Regions from separate parts of the Homo sapiens genome. Here region 2 is linked to region 1. Evidence: promoter capture Hi-C in human tissues and cell types (Jung and others, 2019). All regions are on one chromosome and are shown on one strand. The core of a region is centred on a gene start or on the middle of the fragment in contact, and the rest is flanking DNA. Distances in the headings are between cores, read along the strand shown. Region 1 holds the start of RPL34 (ribosomal protein L34). Region 2 has its middle 160 kb from the start of RPL34-DT.

Region 1 (5,668 bases), core at 53-2,552:
AGGGAAGTAGCTGATGACAAGGTCGGGGGAGAAGCAGCTATTTGAGAGTGAGCAGAGGGAAGGATATAACCAGAGCCTTCCATCTGGTGTTGTGACAAAGATGGCAGTGATGTGAGGCTTGATAGAATCAATAGGCCTCACAGTTCAAGACAGACTACATGCCCTCAGTCACTTGCCTGCTTTCTTGGTTTGCTAGATGGATTAGAAATACTAGAAGGAAAGTTGAGTGGGTACTGGGATATCCTATCCAAATCCTCTCTTCTGGGGCAATGCAGCTGCCTCACAGCAACCACGTTGTGGATCACCTGACCCCGCCTTTCTCAGCTTCCTGGAGGTGCATTCTAAGAGCGCTCCCCATAAGCCAACACTCAAGTCTCTTCGAGGTGTGTTTCCAGGGAGCCTGATCTAAGATTAAAAACTTAAAGGCCCCTTTTAGAATTGTCTTTTACAGCCCAGGCAAAGAGTTCTTTACTTTTTTAGAGGTCATGAATCCCTTTGACAAGGTGATGAAAGCCAGGGACCCTCTTCTCAGAAAAATACACACGTGCGCTTAATGTAAAATTTTACATACTGTTTTAAAGGTTAAACTTTACCACCCATGAAAAGCCTCAAGTAGTTCTTTGTACATAATCATAAGATTAGCAACCATTTACTGAGCACTTCCTCTCTATAAGACCCTGTGCTAAGTGCTTTAACTTCATAATGCCTTTGATCATGACATAACATGGCACGGTAGTTCCTAATATCTTCCTTTTAGAGATTTAAGGGCTTGCTCAAAGTAACATAGCTAATAATTAGCAGACACTGGATTAAAATCCCAATTTGTTTGTAAAGCTTGTGCTCTGAATAAATGACAAGGAAAGAGAAGGGAAGGTTGAAGAAGGGAAGGTTCTTGAAGGTCCCTGGTCCTTGAAGGTCCCTTAACCATAAATGTCAAGAGTTGGGATTTAAACCCAGGTCTAACGCCAGAGCTGGCGCCCTTTAGATTAAAAGTGCAGTGTCCATGACAACGAAAGAAGTTGATTTTGTCCCACCTTTGCTCTTTGCGGCTTTTCATTTGCGTTTGTTTCCACAGCGATTTCCAATAGATTTCTGCGTGGCCTTGACACAGACAGCTAGTGTGAATCCCCGCCCACAGAGGGGCGGCACGTTGGTTGCCGTACAACGTGGTGGTTCCCTGCATCTCTGCCCACGTCGGAGAGGTGCGTCGGCTTCCGTACAACACGGATACTCTCTCTCTGACGCAACTTCCTGTCCTGCGCAATTCTATTTGACCTTTGAACTGGCAAAGGCTTTTTTCTTCCTCTTCCGGGGACGTTGTCTGCAGGTATGGATGTTGTTCTCTTTTCCCTGTCTTTATTTCCTTACCAATCGGCTGCCATCCGAGGAGCTGAGGAAGCCTAGAGCTCTCAGAAGCAGTCCTTTGAGCTGGTGTAGGGGTAAGGGGCACAACAGGGAGGTTGGTGGTGAGGAAGTTCCTTACTTTGATCTTTGGAAATCCCTTGTTCCTGGTGGCACCTCCAAAGCCGTGAGTAGCCACAGCTCACCACCCGGGACTTTGCTGCATTCCAAGTGTAGCGTTTGGAGACTAACGAGTTGTGGTTTGGCGGTTTGAGTCTGGAAAATCGCCAAACGTTTTCATATTTTACACCCACGTTTTCACAGCACGCCTGTACGTGTCCTTAGTCTTTGGGAGGGCAGGGTCCGGCGAGTTCGGGTGGTTTCGCTATTTGGCTTCTGCGTCCAAGGCCCATGTCAAGGAAGAGAAAAATGTGTTAGAAGTTTCTGTCTTGCTTTTGGAGATGCAAACAGAATAATGGCTTCATAAATCACTCGCACTGGTTTTACGTGTCAAGTTTTGGTGTCTGGTAATTCTGTTTTAGTTTAATTTTAGTGAGAGGCTTGTGACAACAAATGAGGTGGTTACAAGGGGTGGAATGGGAAGATTAAATTAGTTCAAGTATTGATTATGTTTTACGTTGGGTAGTTCCCTTAACGAAGTTGCTCGTATGCATATCTGTATAACCGATTTGCTAAATAACATCACGATGTTTCCAGAAGTGGGAAGAAAGCAGGTGCCATAACCCAAAGAAACTTGTGTAATATCAAAATTAGTATTAAAGGGTATGCCTTTACGCAGGTGGTGCTTTAGGGCAAGACATTGAACCCTGATATGTGCCAGGCATTGTGTTGGGACGGATAGCCCACGTCGTTTAATCCTAATGACAGCTGTATAAAGTAGACAGAATTCCCATGTTAGAGATAAGGAGGCTAGCTCCTTGCCCTTTATATTCCCAGTAAATGGCATAGCTAAGGATTCGACTTCAGAGCTCACTTTTTGTGCTCTTTGTTTAAAGCGGTGTTTCTCCAACTGGGCTCGTGGCACTTTTCTGGACACCACTCCAAACAAAATTAGACTCTGAGTAAGGAGCCTGGTCATCAGAACGTTAAGGAAGTGCCACGTTTGATTACCATCAGGAAAGCTAACATTCTTGGCCTCTTGTTTATCAGTCACCTTTAAATACAAGTAGTTTTAAAATGTGGAATAATACATCTTAATTTAAGGGTGTTACATACAAGGATATGTATGTGAATGAAATAGACCACATGATACTGTTTTGAGATTTTATTTACTTTTACAATGGAAAGATTTGATGTTACTCTATTCTTAATTTAGGCACTCAGAATGGTCCAGCGTTTGACATACCGACGTAGGCTTTCCTACAATACAGCCTCTAACAAAACTAGGCTGTAAGTATTTCTGAAAATTTTAAGTATATATTGTCATTTACTCTACAAAATGCTGACCTACTGACTGTTTCACTTTCTAGGTCCCGAACCCCTGGTAATAGAATTGTTTACCTTTATACCAAGAAGGTTGGGAAAGCACCAAAATCTGCATGTGGTGTGTGCCCAGGCAGACTTCGAGGGGTAAGTGTACCTTTTACTGTGTGCAGCCTAACAAGTCTTGAACTTACTGAGCTTTCATCCCTTGACGATGGAATGAATCAAGGAGAGGTTACCACTAAGAGGGTTCAGAATTACTAAACATTCATGAGCCAAATCTGCCACGAACATAGACTTTTTAAACCAATCTGAGAAATGCAGTGAAATGCCTTTCAGATAAATGAGTACACCATTTCCCTTTGTAACCTACTTTAAACTTGCCCTTAACACTTAACAAAATTTAGGGAAATTTCTGTTAAAGCATCACAAAAATCTTAATATTTTTCTTATGCAGGTTCGTGCTGTAAGACCTAAAGTTCTTATGAGATTGTCCAAAACAAAGAAACATGTCAGCAGGGCCTATGGTGGTTCCATGTGTGCTAAATGTGTTCGTGACAGGTAAGTTAAATGCTTAAATGGGCTTTCCTTAGCAAATTATTGTGTGTGTTATACTGTCTGCTGATCAGTACAATGGTGAAGCAACTCATTTTAAACCAGTTGCATGCTTTAGAACCCTTTCTTTGCTATGGATAATTGATGCTGCACAAAGCAGGAAATGATATTCAAAGTAATAATTTGGGGGCATATTTATGCTAGATGTGGAGATTAAAAGGAACTTGGTTTTGTTCAGGAGGTGGGTAAGAAAGTCTCTGTTAGTGGTTTGGACAAAGATAGATGGAGTGTGGAAGGTGTTAAAAGTGTAGGAACAGAAGAGTTGTGTATTCTCATGTGCGGAAGGTGTTAAAAGTGTAGGAACAGAAGAGTTGTGTATTCTCATGAGCATAGGGTTGCAGGAGATGATGGACAACAAAGGTAGAAAAGCCAGATTATGGCCAGGTGTGGTGGCTTATGCCTGAAATCCCAACACTTTGGGAGGCGGAGGCAGGCAGATACCTGAGGTTGGGAGTTTGAGACCAGGCTGACCAACATGGAGAAACACCGTCTCTACTAAAAATACAAAAAGGTAGCTGGGCGTGGTGGCGCATGCCTGTGATCCCAGCTACTCAGAGACTGAGGCAGGAGAATTGCTGGAAGCTGGGAGGCAGAGGTTGTGGTGAGCTGCGATTGCGCTATTGCACTCCAGCCTGGGCAACAGGAGCGAAACTCTGTCTCAAAAAAAAAAGGGAAAGAAAGAAAAGCCAGATTATGAGGGGCTTTACAGAATAAAAGGTAGATTAGCTTAATTCTTTTATTGATTGATTGATTTTGAGATGGAGTCTCGCTCTGTAGCCCAGGCTGGAGTCCAGTGGTGTGATCTTGGCTCACTGTAACCTCCGCCTCCCGGGTTCAAGCAATTCTTCTGCCTCAGCCTCCTGAATAGCTGGGACTGCAGGCACATGCCACCACACTTGACTGATTTTTTGTATTTTTAGTAGAGACAAGGTTTCACTGTGTTAGCCAGGATGGTCTCTATCTGACCTCATGATCTGTCAGCCTCGACCTCCCAAAGTGCTGGGAATACAGGTATAAGCCACCGCACCCAGTCCTAGCTGAGTTTTTAAACCAAACCTTTTGACACCAAATGCAGGCTTCATTCTGCATTTTAGGAGGTAGATTGTAAGAGAACAGTAGGAGATACTACATTAATACAAATAGGGGATAAATATAGCTTCTGTGATACACAGCAAAGCTTAACTATGATTGAAGTTTAAAGGAGAAATTACTTGCAAATAACTAGGAATGGCATTTGAGTTGGAACCTAAATGATGGGCAAATTTTGGACAAAAGGCAGAAAGGGCATTCCAGGCAAGGAAAGTACGGACTGATCTGGCACATTGTGGGTGAGAAATGGAAGTGTACATTGGAGATAAGTCATGAGTTTTAAGCTGAAGAAGTTTGGCTTTTTTTCCCCCAGTCTTTGGTTCTAAAACTTTGCTGAACACAAAATCAGATGGGCACATTTATTAAAAATACAAATTCTCGGGCCTTATCTCCTGAAGATTTGAATTTAGGTTTACAGGATAGCCTAGAAATTAGCATTGTTAGCTGTGATGCTGAGCAGGTCTGCATGTGGTCTGTGCTTTGAGTAAGTTAAGGGAATTTTTAAGTGATTCAGTTGTATGTGTCTCTGATAGGATCACATGGGGGAGATTTGAAGAAATTAGAAAACCCAGAGTTTTGAGGGTAGGGTTTGATAACCAGGTTTACCAATGGGAAATGGGGTGGGGGAAGGTTTAAGTTGAAGCAAGAGGAGTGCTTTAAACTCTGGTGGTAACTCTGATTTAACAAATGCTAGGAAGACCTGCTTTTTGCTAGGTCCTGTGCAACACTGTAATGATAGTGATCCATAAAATGCACTCCTAGATGGAGGCTCAAAGTCTAGAAAATCTTTCCAAATTTAATCCTCATAAACTCCCTGTTAAATACGTGTGAAACTATTTTGTGCCTTAATATAGAGAAGGTAACTTGTCCAGTGTGCAGCTAGTGTGTGGTGGAGTTGGCCGTAAACAGGTTCTAAAATCCTTGCTCTTGGTGAGGTGTCTCTTGCTAATATCCCTTTACCTTTTAATTTTAGTTCTTAACACATAGCCCCTTATGTGTTGTTTTTTACTGGGAATTTTCAAAAATATGGTTAAAATATTCTAAGACATTTTGCAAATCAAGAAATACCACTATTCCTGGATCCTAACAATAAATTAGAGCTCTCATAAGTGGTCTCCTGTGGGGATGACTTCATAGTTTATCTTGACTCAGAAGGAGGACAGATAACTACTGGCATGAA
Region 2 (6,072 bases), core at 1,720-4,219, 160 kb before region 1:
ATATGTATTTAGATCTCCTAAAATTTACAGGTGTAAATGCAGATTTACATACTCAACTTATTTCAAATATACTTAGAAGCCTTCTAATAACTAAATGAGGTATTAGTTTGTAAATTTAAATTTTAAATTGTAATTTTAAACTTTTAAGTTAATTAAAATTAAATAAAATTACAAATTCAGTTTCTCAGTCTTCCTCACCACATTTTAAGTTCCACTAGCCACATGCATAGCTATATTGGACAGACTAGCTCTAACCTGTAGGACTAAGAAATTGTCCAAATCCACCCATCTTTCCTCTCTGAGATTCCTATGGTCATCTGATTGAAATCAAACTAAAAATGTGTAGAATGGCTTTGCCAGACAAAGGTAGCCCCACAGAGGTACCTCCAGCAAAAAATGTGGGTTGACCAGCAAGGTCAAGGCCATCTGACGACAAGACTCTCATCTGATTTATACACTCAGCCACCTACTTCTTAAACCTCTCAACTGCCTGTTATAGCTCTGGTCCAACAATACACAAAGCTGGGGAGAATGCCTCAAGGCTCCGTACCTTTGGGTTGACTTTGTGTGTCTGGAATGTCTGTTTTAAATGAGATTTCCAAGGGATGCATTGTGAGCCGTTCAACTTTATAAAACACCAGCTCCTTTCCAAGTGTGGTGCTTGGGTGTCCTCTGGGACTCCTTGGTAACTTCTACATCGGATAATTAAACCCAAGAATCTGAAGGAACTAGCCTGAGAAGAAATATGCAGAGACTTGCGGAGGCGAGAAAGTAGGAACTCAGATATGTTGATGATAAAACAATGCTAAAGGCAGGTATAGAAAAAAAGGACACTGGAGTTTTCAAATGGAAAAAGAGCCTGTAAAACTTAATCAAATGTCAACAGGGCAATTTGGCAGAAAAAGGTGGGAATCAATGGGATAGAGCCTTACAACCAAAAGTTGATCAGAACTGAAATGAAACAGATCTGTACTCTCCTCCTGACTTTGCCACTTGAAGTCCAAAGCAGTAAGCAGGGTGCCTTGTTAGGAAAAAGCAACCAGAATGCCAGTGGTTAAAACAGGGGGAATATTTGATTTTTAAATGAAAGGCTATCAGACACTACAATGTTCTAAAGTATCCTCACATTTTTATTATGCCTAATGCCAGCTCATGCACACAATACATCATTCACATGAACACTCACAGAACCACAGAAATGGCATAGAATGGTTCCTTAAGAAAATGACCGTAAAAAAGCCTTTGAAACTATTGATAATTAATAAGCCAGGGAGTAGCAATTAATATGTGTAGAGATGGGGCACCTACTGTTCTCTGAGCCATAGCTCATTTAAAATACTCACCCTGTAATTTATGAGCGATATTTAATACCTCAGTGACCATAAACCTCAATGTTTTATTACCACTGCTTAGCATACCTTTGATGTGCTGCCCAGCACTACACAATCCAAAACAAATTACTTTCAGGAAGCTGGATATTATATAAATGCAGGAAAGTCATAAATAATGCACAGGAGGAACATTTTCTGTGGGTTCTGACATGCCACAGTGGGTCTCTGTGAGTCTCTGTGAGTCTGACTTCTCAAGCATCTCACTGGGCTTGGATGAGGGGCAGGAGGGCGGCCCATCTGAGGAATGGTTGGTTGTCAGACAGGGTGGGAGTGCAGAGGGCCAGGCACTGACTGACACCATATTTTAAACCAATAACAGAGGGAAATGGAAAACAAATGAGGACTCTTTAGGAAGCTATGATCTACTTAGTGAGCTACAGATGTGTAAGGAACAAACCCTTCATTCATATTTTTGGTGGGCTCTTCATATTCCTCTTCCTTGCTATTATATGGGCATGCACTGGCTTCTCAACAGCTGTTCAAAACTCTCTATTCTCTTCAAGGTTTGGGATTCAAGACCCAGATTACCCACACCTGCTTACATGAGACAATCTCCTACCTCACTGAAGAAATCGAGGTCATCCGGTGAGAATTCCTCCAACTTTCCTCCAACATAATCATCCTTGTCAAACCTCATTCTTACTGAGGTTGCTCTGTTGTGAAAGGGACAATCCTTTCGCAAGGTGAAACCCCTGTGTCCTTAATCACATTCCCTTGCCCTCTCCTCCAACACCATAAATCATCCCCTTACAGTCTTAGTCCTCTCCCTCTCCACTGGTTCTTTTCCATTTGTCCTCAAATAGGATCAAATATATTGCATCCCTCAAATAAACAAGCAAGCAAAATAAAATCTTTTTCATAACCACATTACCTTATTTCTGAATATGCTCTTCTCCCTCTCTTTGCCCCTACAGTCAGCCTGCCCTCATTGCCAAGCAGATTCTGTCCTCACCATTCTGCTAAGAATCTTCTGGTGGTTTCCCTCCTCCATGACATTCTTCTGGGCTTCGTCTGATAAGACTCTCTACAGGGTTGAATATTGTTTCCTCTTCCTACCCTTACTTGAAACTTTCATGTCCCAGCCTTGCAGGTTCCTATTCTTGTTCAGGATTATTTTCCCCTAGGTCTCTTCTACTGGCTCTGCTTCCTTTGCCCATCCCCAGTCCTCTTCTCTGTATACTCTTTCTAGATGGTCCCACCCTCTTCACTGGCTTTAACCATCATCCTGATACCAGTGACTTCAAGTCCTATTGCTGAAACTTAACTCCCTAAGCTTTACCAGTTGCTCATTGGACAATTTCGCCTGGTATTCCATAGGCCAGCATTCCAAAATATAAGTTATAAGGAGAGATGGGATATTTGCAAGGTGTCAAAATATCACCCCACAAACAACTTGATAATTGCAAAGAGGAAAATGTATCTTCAAAATGAAAATATGTGATGGCCACTACCTTAACCAAGTGATCAAATATACTATCACTAATTGTGGACAATCTGCCATTTGATACCTGCTGAGGGGATAAATAGAAAGTATGTGGCAATACCTGTAAGTTATTCTTGCCAATGATGTTTAACCTGAATGTAATCAAGTCTTTTAGACCTAACTTGCTGTTTGTATAAAACACAAGGGAGAGAGTAAAAAGCTAAAGGATACCACAAAGCAACAATCAGGCAAATCCAGATTGTGTGATCTCTATAGGTTGATTGGCCTGGTCTCTTCAAAAAGACAATAAGAGTCAATATCATTTTTAAAAATGGAGACTGTTCTGAGATAAAAGAACTAAAAGAGATAACAGTCAAATGCAATGCATAAAGCGTGATTGAATCTTGCTTTGAAACAACCAGCTATAAAAGATATTTTGGGTATAATGTAGAAAATTTGAAGACAAGCTTTAAATTAGCTAATATTAGAGAAATAATGTAAATTTTCTTAAATGTTTTATGGTATTGTGCTTTTGGAGGAGGATTTCCTTATTATTGGGAGATGCATGCTGAAGCATTTAGGGATGAACTTTTGTGTTACCTGCAACTTACTTTCAAACGTTCTGCAAAAATAAACATCTGCATGTGTGTATAACTCAAATACAGCAAAGCATCAATAATTTTTTAATTTAGGGGGTAAGTGTGGGAATGTTGAATGTACTTTCCTTCAACATTCTGGCATGTTTTAAAATTTTCATAACAAAAAAGTAGAAAATATGAAGGGAAAATGAAGTAGGCAAAAAACAAAAAAAGTAGAGAAAGAGTAGCCAAAAACTATAAATATAAATTTAATACTTTTCTTCTGCCTCCCCCTTCCCTATTTTTTCTATTCATAATTTACCAAGTAGATGAAGCTAAAAATCTTAGCATCATCTCTAACTTCTCTTTTCCTCTTCAGATCTCCTACTTCCTTCCCTCCTATCATCTGGTCTTTATCTCTCCATATCTTGAGTCTCTGTACCACCCTCCACCATTGCTGCCACACTGCCCTCATGGGTCCTCCATCATGAATCACCTGGACTTCCACCCCCCGGGCTTAATCTCCTCCACCATCAGTCCATTTTCCCTATTCACTCCCCTGATGAAACCTTTATGCAAACTTCCACTGCCTGGGAAATAAAATCAAATTCCCTGAAATAAAACTATTAAAGGATAACATTGGAATGGAATCTAAAAGTAAGGACAAGAGGGAAGTCAAATTGACATCTAGCAACACCCTCAGGCTTTTGACTGCAAAGCTAGAATTTTGATTCCTAGGCTGCCTCACTCCAGGCTTCATTTTGTGCAGAGACAGCAAAGAAGATAGGCCTAGGAAAAAGGATGGTGTCTTCTTAAGGAAACTTGAACTGTCTACCTGAAAAAAGAACCAGGTATGGATCAACCAAGTAGTGTTCTGGATTTTTAAGGTCTATAAAAGAGAGACAGTACCTTTTAACTACCAAGGCCATGACTTCAGATGCTCAATGAAAGACTCATTTTACTGACTTCAGTAAGTGGTTTATAACACTCTTTCAGTGAAGGTGAGGGAAGCAAACACTCTCATACATTGTTAGTATGAGTGTAAATTGGTACAGTCACCATGGGGGGCAATTTTCTTTTATACTCTTAGATCCAGGTGAGGTCACTTTGGAAAATTTGTCCACCAGATATACTTGCTGCTATGCTTTTAATGAATCCCCTCCAAAACTTAGGTGTTGCCAATGTGGTTGTATTAAGAGATGAGGCCTTTAAGACGCGACCAGGCCATGAAGGTGCCACCCCTATGAATGGAATTAGGTGCCATTATAAAGGTGTTTGGCAGAGGGAGTTGTTTCTCTCTTGCCCTCTGCCTTCTACCATTTGAGGCATGGAAATAAGGTCCTCACCAGATGCTGGTGCCTTGACCTTGTACTTACCAGCCTTGAGAACTGTGAGAAATAAATTCCTGTTCTTTTTTAATTACCTAGTCTTGGGTGTTCTGTTACAGCAGCACAAAATGAACTGAGACATTTGCACATATGCAAAATGATGTATGGTATATATAATTCTGAATTCTGCTATGTCATTCATTAAGACATTTTTTCTCAATTGGAAAAATATTGAAGTAAGCAAAACCTCCACCAATAGCGGACTAGTTAAATAAATTATGGTACTTCAGCCTAAAGGAATATTATCGGTTAATGTAAAGAATTGTGAAGAACTCTATGCACACATCTCTGTAAGACGTATTGCGACATGAAAAATGCAAGGTGCAGCACCATGTGTATAGTGCTCTAAACTTTATGGTAAAATGTGAGAAAATAGAGAATAGGTGCTTGAGAATAAAAAAGTCAAAAATAATGCAGCAATATTAAGTGTGAAAATTATCCACCACCTCTAAGGTTAGAAAAACACAGGGAAGATGTTGGTGTTATCATAACCTAGAAACTTGAAGGGATAAGCACATGGAGCTGGGACTCATACCTCTGAGAAGGAGAACCACCGGGCTGGTGCTGACATCTCTGATGGGAGTGGTGGGAGACTATCTTAGTCTGTTTTGTGTTGCTATAACAGAATACCACAGACTGGGTACATTTATAAAGAAAATATATTTATTTCTTATAGTTATGAAGGCTGGGAAGTCCAAGGTTTAGGATCTCACATCTGGCAAAGGCCATCTTGCTATGTCGTCCCATGGCAGGAGGTGAAAGGGCAAGAGAGCACATTTGCCAGAGAGGAAGGGGGCCAAAGTCATCCTTTATCAGGAACTCATTCCCACAATAACTAATCCATCCTGGCAATAATGACATTAATTGATTTATGAGAGCAGAGCCCTCATGGCCTAATCCCCCCTTAAGGGTCCCACCTCTCAACACGGCTGCACTGAGAATCAAATTTCCAGCCCCTGTGAACTTTGGGAGACACATTGAAACCATAGCAGTATGAAACCACATTGAAACTGAGACTGGTTCTGGGAGTGCAAGTACAAGCTGGAGATAGGAACAAATTGCTCCACCATGCTTCCCCTTTCTGCCTTTCAGTCTTCCTCTATTACTCCCTATTGGCAAAATCTAACAGAGAACGAGCTGACAAAGGAAAAATGTAGTTTCCTGAGTCCCAGCATGGAGTGTAGAAGGATGGGTTTAAAGCTGAGAGGTGATAGCTTAATAACTAGCACAGTAGATTCAATAAGAATGGCCAAGGTGGACATAGGATCATCATGTGGCTGTTGGAATTAGTG

Evidence for each region. The method cuts DNA at HindIII sites, captures the fragments that hold promoters and counts their contacts. A contact is called where the count stands out against the background at its distance.
Region 2: a contact is called between a fragment that was not itself captured here and the fragment with the promoter of RPL34 in region 1, in 1 of the 25 tissues and cell types used here (heart right ventricle).

The regions. Positions count from the first base shown.
Region 1 is chr4:108,619,274-108,624,941 of GRCh38, forward strand. RPL34 (ribosomal protein L34) reads left to right here and starts at 1,303. Exons shown (of 5, transcript NM_001319236.2): 1 at 1,303-1,327; 2 at 2,678-2,751; 3 at 2,832-2,931; 4 at 3,242-3,345. The coding sequence starts at 2,687. RPL34-DT (RPL34 divergent transcript) reads right to left here and starts at 1,184. Exons shown (of 4, transcript NR_026968.1): 1 at 1,035-1,184. RefSeq lists enhancers at 841-2,040, 1,266-1,315. The HindIII fragment of the contact is 5,652 bases long and covers 383-5,668 here.
Region 2 is chr4:108,453,015-108,459,086 of GRCh38, forward strand. No RefSeq gene overlaps it. Among named protein-coding and RNA genes, the nearest start is that of RPL34-DT, 160 kb to the right of the region's middle. The HindIII fragment of the contact is 5,912 bases long and covers 14-5,925 here.